Regions from separate parts of the Homo sapiens genome. Here all the other regions are linked to region 1. Evidence: promoter capture Hi-C in human tissues and cell types (Jung and others, 2019). All regions are on one chromosome and are shown on one strand. The core of a region is centred on a gene start or on the middle of the fragment in contact, and the rest is flanking DNA. Distances in the headings are between cores, read along the strand shown.

What was found. The method cuts DNA at HindIII sites, captures the fragments that hold promoters and counts their contacts. A contact is called where the count stands out against the background at its distance.
Region 2: a fragment that was not itself captured here is called in contact with the fragment with the promoter of ZNF510 in region 1 in 1 of the 25 tissues and cell types used here (IMR-90 fibroblasts).
Region 3: the fragment with the promoter of CTSV here is called in contact with the fragment with the promoter of ZNF510 in region 1 in 1 of the 25 tissues and cell types used here (adrenal gland).

The regions. Positions count from the first base shown.
Region 1 is chr9:96,776,230-96,780,783 of GRCh38, reverse strand. It overlaps ZNF510 (zinc finger protein 510), which reads left to right and starts at 2,697. Exons shown (of 6, transcript NM_014930.3): 1 at 2,697-2,750; 2 at 4,539-4,554. RefSeq lists a silencer at 2,837-2,936. The HindIII fragment of the contact is 14,118 bases long and covers 1-4,554 here.
Region 2 is chr9:96,327,556-96,332,109 of GRCh38, reverse strand. The region is part of intron 9 of SLC35D2 (solute carrier family 35 member D2); the gene reads left to right. All of the region lies in intron 9 of SLC35D2-HSD17B3 (SLC35D2-HSD17B3 readthrough), which reads left to right. Among named protein-coding and RNA genes, the nearest start is that of HSD17B3, 28 kb to the right of the region's middle. The HindIII fragment of the contact is 3,616 bases long and covers 770-4,385 here.
Region 3 is chr9:97,037,319-97,041,872 of GRCh38, reverse strand. It overlaps CTSV (cathepsin V), which reads left to right and starts at 2,731. Exons shown (of 8, transcript NM_001333.4): 1 at 2,731-2,802; 2 at 3,820-3,955; 3 at 4,258-4,380; 4 at 4,475-4,554. The coding sequence starts at 3,830. RefSeq lists a silencer at 2,387-2,696. The HindIII fragment of the contact is 6,962 bases long and covers 1-4,554 here.

The DNA of each region.
Region 1 (4,554 bases), core at 1,448-3,947:
GAGAATTTACATTATGAGATTTCAAGGCTTTCTATAAAATTAGAGTAATCCAAACAATATATCTGCAAAAGAATAGACAGACCAGGCAACACAAAGAAGAAAGGATTTTTTAAAGTGAATTGAAATTTTATTTTTATACAAAAACCTGCGTGTGAATCTTACATTACAGGGTTATTCATAATTGTCAAAAACTGGAAACCACCAGCTGCCCTTCAACAGGTGAATGAAGAAACACTACTAAATTAGTGAGTGATACTTTAAGAGAAACATGATGTTTTATAGCCTCAAAATATCTCACTGCAGGCCAGTCATGGTGGCTCGCGTCTGTAGTCCCAGCACTTTGAGAGGCAAAGGTGGGTGGATCGCCTGAGCCCAAGAGTTTGAGACCAACATGGACAAAAACAAAGAAAGAGAAAGAAAAAGGGAAAGGAAGGGAGGGAGGAAGGGAGGGAGGGAGGGAGGAAGGGAGGGAGGGAGGTCCAAAACTTAGCTACTTGGGAAGCTGAGGTGGGAGGATCACTTGAGCCTAGGAAGTCCAGGCTGCAATAAGCCGTGATCGCACCACTTCACTCCAGCCTCGGTGACATAGTGAGACCCGGTCTCAAAAACAAACAAACAAACCAAACCTCACTGCAAATATTTATCAGCTGCGGTGGTGCTGCATCTACACACACAGCGCCGAACTTGGAAGTTGGCGGAGAGCAGCTCTTTGGGCACCAGGCAAGGTCTCAGCCTTCAGACAGATGTGAAGGGCGAGACTTTCCTTGGAAAGGAATTAAAGGGTTTATCTTTTTAAAACACCTGTTTCTCTTAAAAACTTAAGAAATGTATAATTTAAAAATTTAAAACTTTGATATTATTAATTGCTTATTGTTGAATGAATCCTTGTGAAAATTATTGATTGTAATGTTAGTGCCATGGATATGTCCTTTGTCCCAGCACCTATCTCATTGTCCTAACAAGGTTACTGAAGGTTCTCTTTCCACTGCTTTAAAAGCCAGCTGATACATACTACATTCTTTCTTTTTCATATAGTTGAACTTTTACTGCACCAGGATAAATTTTTAAATATTTAGTGATAGTATACATAGTAAATATAGAGATATTGCTATGCATTTTCAATTCTTTTCTGATCATTACCATAAGTTTTTATTAGAATGAAAATTGGAATAGTTCCTTTAGGAAAACAGGCAAAATATATAAATGTCAAAAAAAGAAAATATATACTTAGAAAACATAGATGATTAGAATTTTTAAAAACAAATGTTAGTCTTTTCCTCCAGTATCTATTAAAGTGTTTTTCAGTGTCAACAGTAAAATTTTATACCTTGATTCATATATACTGCACTAGTTTACTGTTGCCATTAATCTTTTTTCTTGCTAATCAAAACTTATCATTGCCATATAAAATAACCTGTTAGAAAGTATCAACCGTGTGTGTGTGAGTGTATGTGTGTTACTAAAAAGAGTGTCATAAAATACTGTGCTGAGAGGTTCCTAATTTGGTTCCTGATTTCAGAAGCATACCACATAAGATTTAAGCAAGCTCATCTCTAGGAGATGCATAATTTGTGGATAACGGTTTTCTTAGTTGGGATTGTGTGTACTTCAGGTATTATGTAATGCTGAACAGCTTACTTGCTTTTTCTTTTTTTCCCCCCAGAGATAAACTGAGGATCACAAATATTATTCTTTTATGTTAATAATGGTTTCCATTTTCTAGTATTTGTTACATTTTACGGCTTTATTCACAAAGCTGTTTATGTATTTTTGTGGCAGCTCTAAGTTAAAAGGCACACTTGTAACATTACAGTCCCAATTTTCCCTTTATCAACTTTATATTATAAAATTTTCCAACACATAGTCAATAAGCATGTCCATATTCTAGAAGTAGATATTCTTAACATTTTGCCATACTTCCCATTTCTAATTATTTTTTAAAAAGAACTTACAAACGGGCCGGGAGTGGTAGCTCACGCCTGTATACCCAGCACTTTGGGAGGCCAAGGCAGGCGGATCACTTGAGGTGAGGAGTTCGAGACCAGCCTGGCCAACATGGTGAAACCCCGTCTCTACTAAAAATACAAAAATTAGCTGGGCGTAGTGGCGGGCGCCTGTAGTCCCAGCTACTTGGGAGGCTGAGGCAGGAGAATCGCTTGAACCCGGGAGGCGGAGGTTGCAGTTAGCCGAGATCGCGCCACTGCACTCCAGCCTGGGCGACAGAGTAAGACTCCGTCTCAAAAAAAAAAAAAAAAACCAAAAAACCCAAAAACTTACAAACATAATACAATCCTAAATACTTACATAGACATCTCTTTATGAATAAGCAAGATTACCTACATAATCCCAATGCTGCCACAATTAATTAATAATTCTAATTTCCAGTCCGTATACAAATTTTCCCAATTGTTTTCAAACGTCTTCCGCGGCTCTTGCTTTCTGTAACCACACGCTGCATTTGCTGTTATGTCATCAAGTCTAACCCACAACCTCTGGGGCTCTGACAGAACCCGGGCTCCAGTTATCAGGACGGTCCATGTTATTACGCCATAAATCTTGGGGGAAAAACAAACAAAAAAACACTGACAGCTGGCGCCGTACTGCATGTGAAACGTAGTCTTGCATGTTATGGGTTACCGCGCAGCATGCTGGGAACGGATATGCGCGTTTTCGTCTGCGCATGTGCAGTCAACCCCACTTTCCGGCTTCTCCCTGTTAGTGTTTGCTGGTGCAGAGGGTTCGCAGCTCAGGTGAGAGCGCCGGGCCTCCACGCGGATTGCGGACCTGCAGGGAGGGATGTGCTAGTGTCCAGGGGGCGGGAACGCGACGTCCCGGGAACTCCCCCAAAGCAGGCCGTCGCTCCCTGTGCCTCGGCCGGCCCGGGACCTCAGCCTGAGAAGGGCCGGTGGGGGCGGGCTCCGGGGGCGTTAGGTGGGGCTGAGTCCTAGTTGGAAGATGCTCGGTGCGGGCCGAGGTATGGGCGCCAGAATGCAGCCAGGCGTCGGAAAACGCGGTGCTGGCTTCAGGAGGGGAATGCGCGTTTATTGTATTGACCATGAACCTGCCACAAAGCGCGTACAGCCCGTGGGTCTGCGGTGAGAGGCCGAGCCTAGGAGCTAGAAGGACCTCGTGAATTTTGGCTCTGTCACTTGAGCGTTTGAAAATGAGGATATTAGTAAAAACTGCTTTGTGTCGTTCAGAGGTAAGCCATCCCCTGTAAAGCATTTAGCTAAGCGCTAGTTACTAAGCAGCATGTAAATGTTGATTCCCGTTATATTTGGAAGACACTTTGTTCTTTTCATGTAGTATTTCGTTTAATTCTCACAACCACCCTATTTATATCATTAAAAATGAAGAAGGAGGAGTGAAAAGATAGAGCCAAGCTCACAAAGGATGAGAGAGCTAGGATGTCAATACATAAACACTTTACTCCCCGAATCAGGCTGTTTGTAATGGCCTACCTACCTAACCCAGCATTGCAGCCTTCACAGCACTGAGTGATTGTCCCCAAAACCCCAGGACAATGATTGTGAAGTCAGTGTGGACAGAATCTTACTATGTGGCAAGTGTATTTGTTGTGGGGTTTCTGGGATGTCTCCAGAGCCTCTGGGTTAGACTGAGGCCCCTGCCACCTCCTGTGCTGTCCCTCCTGTCTCTGTCTTTAGAAGTCAGTCTGATATTCTAGGGCAGTGAAGATGAGTCACATACGTAATTTTAAATGTTAAACTAGTAGCTACATGAAAATCTAAAACATGAAATTAATTTTAAGAACATACTGTGGTTTTCTCAGTGTATCCAAAATGTTATTTCAACATGTGGTCCTAGCCACATTTCCAGTGCTCAGTAGTTGATGTGATTGGAGGCTGTAGTCATGGATAGCAGGGTTCTAATTAATGCCAAGAGAATCAGGTTTAAGGCCTTAGGTCACTTCTTCACCAGGAGGATTTTGCTCCCTAGGGAACTTTGGAAATGTTGGAGACTTTTTTGGTGGGGGGAGAGGGGACTGAGTTTCTCTCTGTCGCCCAGGCTGGAGGGCAGTGGTGTGATCTTGGCTCACTGCAACCTCCACCTCCCAGGTTCAACTGATTCTCCTGCCCCAGCCTCCCAGCTTGTAATCTCAGCTGGAATTACAAGCATGCATGGCCATGCCCAGCTAATTTTTTGTATTTTTAGTAGAGGTGGGGTTTCACCATATTGGCCAGGCTTATCTTGAACTCCTGACCTCAGGTGATCCACCTGCCTTGGCCTCCCACAGTCCTGGGATTACAGGCGTGAGCCACCACGCCCGGCCTGGAGACGTTTCTGATTGTCACAACAGGGAGAAGGGGTGTCCTAGTGTCTAGTGCATGTTTAGAAATGCTCTTAAACATCCTGCAATGCACAGGACCACTCCTTATGTCAGAGGATTATCCAGCCCAAAATGGAAGTTGTGCTGACGTGAAGAACACTGTTTTCCATGAAAGTTTCAACTAAAATAAATTTGTTACCCAGGCATCAGCCCCAGCTTCTCTGGAGCAAAGCAGCTCTTTATGTTGCAGGAAGGAGGGAGCCCCA
Region 2 (4,554 bases), core at 1,328-3,827, 450 kb after region 1:
TTACGCTTTGAAATGTTTTGTTAAGAAGCCGACAGAATGGTGAAAGGGCCAGTGCCAACCACAGTCCTGAAAGACACTGTAAACCAGCAGTCCCCAACCTTTTTAGCACCAGGGACCGGTTTCTTGGAAGACAATTTTTCCATGGATGCAGGATGGGTAAGGATGGTTTTGGGATGAAACTCTTCCACCTCAGATTATCAGGCATTGGATTCTTATAAGGAGCATGCAACCTACATCCCTCAAATGCGCAGTTCACAATAGGGTTTGCGCTTCTATGAGAACCTAATGCCATCACTGATCTGACAGGAGGCGGAGCTCAGGCGGACATGCTTGCTCACCTTTTGCTGTGCACCTGGGTTCCTAACAGGCTGTGCACTGGTACCGGTCTGCGGCCTGGGGCTTGGGGACTCCTGCTGTAAACCAAAAAGTGTGTGAGACAGGTCTCAATCTATTTAGAGGTTCATTTTTCCAAGGTTGAGGATGCACTTGGGGAAAAAGAAACACAAATCACAGTAGGATCTGTGGCCTGTGCTTTTTCCAAGGAGAATTTTGAAGACTTCAGTATTTAAAGGGGAAAGGGTGGCAGGAGGGGCAGAGGGAAAGAAAAAAAAAGGGAGGGAGGGTATGTCAGGAAGTGAGTGGTTACATTCTTGTAAGGTGAGTGAGTCCTACATTCTTGCAAGACTTTGATTAGTGCTCACTGAATCCACGTGTTACATGTGAAAGGAGGGGTCGAGGAACAATTATTCATTTGTCTGGCTTTCAGCAAATCTGCATTTTACATAAGATAAAAGCAAGCATACAGGAGAAGGAGGAGGCAATCACGCATTTGTCTTGGAGTGGGCAGAGGGATGATTTCTAGTTCTGTCTTTGTCCATACCTGTTTAAGATAAGCTATTAATTTACATCATCATGCGGGCATGGTGGCTCAAGCCTGTAATCCCAGCACTTTGGGAGGCCGAGGTGGGCAGATCACTTGAGGTCAGGCGTTCGAGATCAGCCTGGCCAACATGGCGAAACCCTGTCTCTACTAAATATACAAAAATCAGCGGGGCGTGGTAGTGTGCCCCTGTAATCCAAGGTACTTGGGAGGCTGAGGCACGATAATCTCTTGAACCTGGGAGGTGGAGGTTGCAGTGAGCCGAGGCTGTGCCATTGCACTCTAGCCTGGGTGACAAAAATAAATAAATAAATAAATAAATAAAATCAGGGTGAAATTCAGCAGAACTCTGTTTTAGGGTGAAGATTTTGGGAACTGCAAGGAACTTCCTTGTGAGCAATTTGCGAGGGAGGCCACCTGGGGAGATGTGTGGCCCTCTCTCTTTGCAGCTATCTATTGAGGAACAGAATGGAAGGCAGTTTTTGTGTGACTCAGTTTCCAGACTTAACTTCTCCCTTTGGCATTGTGAGTTTGGGGTTCTGAGATTTAATTTTCCTTTCACAACACTATCCTGAATGCCATAACCCCCAAAAGATCTAACTTCAAAAAATTATAATCCTGAAAGAGTAGAATCTCAAATGTTGAAATCCTGAAAGCTGAATTCTGGGGAAGGGATTGTGTATTTCTGTTGTATGCAGGATACATGTTGTGTCACATCAGATGGATGCAACTAAATAACAAAATTTCTTTGTTACTGTCTTCATTCGGAAACTTAAGTATGGTTTAAGGCGATGCCTGTGGGTGCCAATTGACAAGCAGGGGGAATTGTGGAGTTAAATTCAGGTATCAATTCGACTGGATTAAGGAATACCTGGGAACCCAGTGAAGCTTTATTTTAGGTGTCTGTGTGTGTGTATATGTGTGGGGGTTTCCACAGGAGATTGGCCTGTGAGTCTGAGTGGACCAGGTGGGGAGGATTTGCCCTCATGGTTGGCAGGCACCAGCCAATTGGCCATGGGCATGGAGAGATCAAATACAGAGGCGAATCCATCCCTCTTTGAAATCTGGGACAGACTTTCTTCTGCTGCCTTGGACATCAGAACTCCTGGCTCACTGGCCTTGGGAATCTAGGGCTTCCACCAGCAGTCTGTGGTCAGGAGGCCTTTGGCCTTGGACCACCAAGTTACACCAAAGGCTTCGCTCGTTCTCAGGCCTTTGGACTTGGCCTAAGCCACGCTACTGGCATCTCAGGGTCTCCAACTTGCAGATGGCCTGTCTTGGGACTTTTTAGCCTCCATAATTGTGGGAGCCAATTCCCCTGATAAATCCCCTCTCATATATCTATACTTGTGTGTTCTATTGGTTCCGTTCCTCTGGGGAACGCTGACTAATATAGATTCCTTTATTGAGGAAGCCAAATATCATTCCTTCTTACTGTATTCCTAACAACACAACAGAAAAGATCTGTGAAAATGTTCTCTCACAAAAGGGCTGTGAAAAATAAAAGTTTAAAAGCTAGTTATTATTGGTGCCGCAAAAGCAGAACATTGCTTAATTGCAATGGCTGAGCAATTATCAAACTTGCAAATGGACAGCGTATGCTTACAAAATCCGTGGGCCACAGCCACTCTCCAAGTACCAGTGGAGGAGTGTTTTGAAGATCATAGATGTGAAAATGCAGGTGAGAAATACAAGAAATCTATGCCAGACACAGTGGCTCATGCCTGTAGCCCCAAAGCTTTGTTTGGGAGGCTGAGTGGGAGGATCACTTGAGGCCAGGAGTTTGAGACCAGCCTGGGCAACATATGAGAACTCATTTCTACAGAAAAAAGTTAGGCAAATGTGGTGGCATGTTCTTGTAGTTCCAGCTACTCAGGAGGGTGAGGCAGGAGGATTGCTTGAGCTCAGGAGTTTGAGGCTGCAGTGAGCTATGATGGCACCACTACACTCCAGCCTGGGCAACAGAGGGAGAGCCTGTCTCTAAAAAAAGTATATATATAAAAAAGTGTGTATTTATATATATAAAAGTATATATGTATATGTGTGTGTGTATATATGTAAATGTCTCCTGCCAAATTATTCAATCTTGTAGAATTTCTGTCCTTTAAAAGACATAAATAATGTCTTTTTTTTTTTTTTTTGAGATGGAGTCTCACTCTGTTTGCCCAGGCTAGAATGCAGTGACGCGATTTCATCTCACTGCAACCTCCGCCTCCTGGGTTCAAGCGATTCTCCTGCCTCAGCCTCCTGAGTAGCTGAGATTATAGGTTCCAGCCACCAAGCCCAGCTAATTGTTGTATTTTTAGTAGAGACGGGGTTTCACCATGTTGTCCAGGCTGGCACTCTGTGAGTTCTTAGGAGTGAGTTCTTCCTAGAGATGGTGAGGATGGGGTTCCTTGGAATTCTTTGAAATCTGGAATTATAAGAGAATGATGTGCTTGGGTACCATTGTGGATGGTGGAAAGAATGCAAAAGTGGCCTGTGAATATTTGAACGTTTGTTGAGTTTCTATATTTGTTGGGGCAGGGAACGGTAATCAGTGACAAGGTATAAACTAGGTCATTTGAGTTCTGTTTGTGACTGCCACAATGTTGGGTAAGGCAGTTACTTTTTGTGCTGTTTTTAGAACAGGAAGAAGAAGGCTTTGAGCAGAGGCTCTGGTCCAGGAGTTTCTACTTGGGCACCTCCACCCTGGGGGCCCTAGAAGCAGAACACTCAGCTGGCCTCTGTTGTCTGAATAAATGTGCATCAGATGTATGTGCTGTTATATTTCAAATGTACACAGATAATATCATGACTTCAAAATACAGAGCACGCTGGGCGTGGTGGCTCACACCTGTAATCCCAGCACTTTGGGAGGCTGAGGTGGGAAGACCACCTGAGCCCAGAAGATGGAGGCTGGGCTCATGTGAGCCCAGTGAGTTGTGATTGTGCCACTGTACTCCAGCCTGAGCAACAGAGTGAGACCCTATCTAAAAAATATAGAATGGTAAAAAAGGTTACTAAGAATTCAGCAATACTTTTAAATATCTTTGTATTTTATTAATCTACAGATAGTAAAATCAAAGCTAGTCATGTGGAGGTTGATATTTTCAGTAATAAAAGTGGTGAGGTTTCCCTTGCACTGAGTACTGAGTTAACGAAGGTTCTTTTAGTTCAAAGTCTTGGTTTTGGCCAAAGAACTATGCAAGTTTTTTTTGCATATAGAAATAGATTCTTTTAAAAAATGTAATATACTGCTACTTTGAGCCTGGTGGTTCTATATTTGCCCTCTCTGGGGACATCTAGTGGGTATATTAAGAAGTGCAAGCTGGGAGTGGTGACTAATTCCTATAGTCCCAGCACTTTGGGAGGCCAGAGAGGGAGGATTGCTTGAGCCCCAGAGTTCCAGATCAGCCTGGGCAAGATAGCAAGACTCTGTATCTAGAAAAAATTTAAAAATTAGCCAAGTTTAGTGATGTGTACCTGTAGTCCCAGCTTCTTGAGAGGCTGAGGTGGGAGGATTGCTTGAGCCTGGGAGGTGGAGGCTGCAGTGAACCATGATCACACCACTGCGCTCCAGCCTGGGCGAAAGAGTGAGACCCCATCTTTAAAAAAAAAAAAAAGAAAAAGAAAAAGAAAAAAGAAGTGCAGCCCTTCTATCTAGCCGCCATCTGTTGCTAAGGAGGATGGCT
Region 3 (4,554 bases), core at 1,482-3,981, 260 kb before region 1:
TCTGCAAAGAGGACATAGCTGAAGTTGCCCCCTTTTTCCCCTAAAGCTTTTCTTCTCCCTCGTCTTTGAATTATCTCCTTTGTTATAGCAAGTTCTGAATATATGGCCTCTGTTTGTTCTTAGGTGGTGGTCTTCATTTATTTCCACATGTGAATGATGATTGTGTTCAACACAATGATTAATTTTTAAAAAAGAAAAAAAACAGCTATTTGCAGTACAAGATGCTTTTTTTTTTTTTTTGAGACGGCAAATTTGCAGTACAAGTACAAGATGCTTTTTTTTTTTTTTTTTTTTTTTTGGGACGGCATCTCGCTCTGTCACCCAGGTTGGAGTGCAGTGGCGCATGCTCTGCTCCGCTCACTACAACCTCAGTCTCCCAAGTAGTTGGGACTACAGGCATGCATCACCATGCCTGGCTAATTTTTGTTTGTTTGTTTTGTATTTTTGGTAGAGGTGTGATTTCGCCATGTTGCCCAGGCTGGTCTCAAACTCCCAGGCTCAGGAGATCCACCTACCTTGGCCTGCAATACAATATACTTTTGTATTTTTTATATAACCACCTGACAGCTTTGGCCCCTAGTTGTATTTGAGAGGGAAAAGCTGCTATTTATTTAAAGGAAGGACATATAATTATTAATAAATTGATTTTTAAAAAGATGTATTTGCCTGATGGTGCTTCTGAAAAGTTGTCAGTTTAATTGTTTTTAATTTGTTAAAAGAAAATCCATAGCCAAATTAAATTTAAGAGAATTTAATTGAGCAAAAAACAATTCGTGAATCTGGCAGCCTCCAGTGCCAGAGTAGGCTCAGAGAGACTCCAGTGCAGCCACATGGGGGAAGATTTATAGACAGAAAAGGGCAAGTGAGGCACAGAAACTGCAGGATTGGATACAGCTCCATGTTTGCCTTATTTGAACATGGTTTGAACAACTGAACCTCTTTGATTTACAGAAATTCGGGGATAGGCACAAGAGCAGGCTACAGTCTGTTTACACCTCCATTTAGATTACAATTCGCTATGTACAGAGAAACCTTTAGGCCAAACTTAAATCACATGGGGAGGCAGCTTTAGGCTAAACTTGATTTCACAAATTTTCAAATTAACAAGTAAAAACTGTGGATATTATTCAATTTAATCTTTAAGAGTTTATTAATCAATATGCATTATAACTTCATTTTTGTAAAAACAAAAAAAGATATGCCTAGAAAAGGGTTATGGAGAGGGCACAAGGGACGTTTATTTTCTAAAACATATTTTTTATAATGGATTTTTTTATATAACTTTAAAAAGAATTAGAAACGTTTCTGAATTATTAATGATTTCCTTAAATCTTTAGCTACATATATTTCTCCATAAAGAGCAGTTCCTCAAACTGCATCACCTCAACCCTGATATTATATATTTTTATTTTTATTTTTATTTTTTGAGACAGAGTTTCGCTCTGTCACCAGTCTGGAGTGCAGTGGCACGATCTCAGCTCACTGCAACCTCCGCCTCTCGGGTTCAAGCAATTCTCCTGCCTCAGCCTCCTGAGTAGCTGGGACTACAGGCGCCCGCCACCACGCCCAGCTAATTTTTGCATTTTTAGTAGAGACAGGGTTTCACCATGTTGGCCAGGATGGTCTCGATATCATGACCTCGTGATCCGCCCGCCTCGGCCTCCCAAAGTGCTGGGATTACAGGTGTAAGCCACCGCGCCCGGCCGGTATTAAACATTTTTAAAGTAAATTTATTAAATCTCAAAAGAAGCACACTTTGAATACTGAGGAAGAGACGTTGTAACCCATAAGCAGAGAGTAGGTAAGTAAAAGCAATTTCCACCACTCTCAGACTGGGCGTAGTGGCTCACGCCTGTAATCCCACCACTTTTGGGAGGCTGAGAGGGGAGGATCGCTTGAGGCCAGGAATTCAAGAGCAGCCTAAGGAAACTTAGCCAAACTCCATTTCTACAAAAGAAAAATTTTTAAAGCAATTTATTTCACCATTCTCAACGCTTTTCTCTTTTTTATTAACCAAATATTTCTGTAACTCTTTTTTTTTTTTTTTTTTTTTTTTTTGGTATTGAAAGACATGGGAGAAGGAAGAATTCCTGAATGCAACAGACTGGGAAGGACGCACCACAAAACGCTCCGCGGTCTCTGGACACCCTATCAGCTAGTCCCGTCCCTCCTGGTGTCCGGTCTCGACCATCCATCCCGTGTTTTGGGAGTGCCTTTCCTTACCAGATTCTTCTAAAGCCCTGATGCACCCACCCTTAAGTGGAAGGTAATGCTTCTGCTGGGGGCTGTGCGTTCTTCCACTCCGTCCCACCTTTGCCGTGGACTAAACAGGAGCCACTGAACGAGAGTACCCTGGCTCCCGGCCCTGCAGATTTTCACCAAAAACTCTAGGACTAAGTTAAAGTAGGGACTGAAATACCACACAGAGCTCGCTGTAAACCACCCGCTCAGCGCAGTAAGTCGGGATAGTCAGTAGATCTGAGCCCTTGAGGGAGGCGCCTCCCCCTCCTCCGCGCAGCCCCCGGGCGCCCGGCCCAGCTTCCCGCAGCCAGGGTGTATTGAGGTAGGCGCGCCCAGACCTGAGACGGGTTGGGACTGGGCTGCGTCACGCGCGGGCTCTAAGCGCCCGGGGCCCCGCCCAGTGGCCGGCACAGCCAATCGCAGCGCGGGAAGGCGGTGGGGGCGGGGAAGGCCGCCTGGAAACTTAAATCCCGAGGCGGGCGAACCTGCACCAGACCGCGGACGTCTGTAATCTCAGAGGCTTGTTTGCTGAGGGTGCCTGCGCAGCTGCGACGGCTGCTGGTGAGCGCCCCCGACCAGACCGAGGGACAGGGCGAAGGGGGACTGGAGGAGGGAACCCCCCTTTAGGGACACTGAGAGGAGGCGGGCGCTTCTGGGAGTGAGAGCTTCTGCCCGGAGCTCTGCCAGCCTCGAGGTGGGGAACGGGGGAGGGCGGTTGGAGACCCCAGGGAGGCGCCGGCACCACTGGGAGGGCCCGGGCGGGGCAGGTCAGTCATCCTGTGGGCTGAAGCCGGACCGGACCGGGCGGCTTCATGCCCCCAGCCTGGCCGCGGAGCCCCCGCTCCCTGCACCGCCGCAAACATTCTCGGGGCGCGGCGGCGCGTGCAGAGGGCGAGAGCAGGCGGTGCGGCCCCGGTCCTGGCCCGCCCGGAGCTCCGGGAGCTGCCTGCCTCGGTCCGGGCCCTGGCCCTGGGGCCCCTGGCTTCCAGCGGCGCGGCCTTGTGACCCTGCCCCGGTTTAGGGGAGCGAGTAGCACAGACCCAAGTGTGGGACGGCGGGAATAGTGGGTGCTCTCCTTCCCAGTGTCTCCTGGAAAGGGATTCCCGAAAGGTTTTATTCCAAAAGGAGAGGTTGGAAGACATAGCTCATCTCCTGCTGTGTATCAGCCAAGAAGGTGTGAGGTGGTGTTCCTTGGGGATCCGCTTGCATCTACTTGGGATGGTACGTCTTCATTAGTGAGGTTTTGCCTGGATGACCTCAGTACAATTGGTGCAAAACCTGGACCAACTCTTTCCTAGTTTTCTAGTTGTTGCCTTAAGCTTCTCACCCGTCAGGTATCTTTCACACCCTTCTCATACCCTAAATTATCGCATATGCTGTTTCAACGCCTCCAACTCTGCAGGCTGCTTTTAATTTTGGTGGGCCCATCAAATACCTCCACTTGGCCTGTTTCAGCCTCTTCCACAGTCCTTGGGGAAATGCTAGGGAGAATAATTGAAATATTTCTATTCCACGGGGGCTGTAAGATGGCTTTTTAGGATTGGTCTAATCAGATACTCATTTCTTTTCTCTTTCTAGGTTTTGAAACATGAATCTTTCGCTCGTCCTGGCTGCCTTTTGCTTGGGAATAGCCTCCGCTGTTCCAAAATTTGACCAAAATTTGGATACAAAGTGGTACCAGTGGAAGGCAACACACAGAAGATTATATGGCGCGGTTGGTAACATCTGAAACTGTCCAGAGGGACTCTGGAGAGAATGGTCCTCGCTGTTGGGAGTTGATAGCCAGAGAGTAGCTTCTAGACACCAGACCTTACCAGGCAATAACCTAACAGCACCCATTATAGGTGCAATATGGGCATATATCTCCATTGTGTCTTGGCTTGGAGAACAGCTCCCAGAGAAGTATCAACCCATCCCTGGCCATGGTTTCTCTTCCATTTCTGCCCGCAAATCGGCTTGGTGAACATGGGTTGGGTAAGTAGACATAAAGTCCACCAGCTATATGTTTGCCTCTAGAATGAAGAAGGATGGAGGAGAGCAGTGTGGGAAAAGAATATGAAAATGATTGAACTGCACAATGGGGAATACAGCCAAGGGAAACATGGCTTCACAATGGCCATGAATGCTTTTGGTGACATGGTGAGTGTGGCAAGGATTGCTGAACTCTGTGCTGCTTCTCAGTTCTTCACCAAAATAGTCTTGCTTTTAACATTTTATTTACTTCTCCTTGAAGACCAATGAAGAATTCAGGCAGATGATGGGTTGCTTTCGAAACCAGAAATTCAGGAAGGGGAAAGTGTTCCGTGAGCCTCT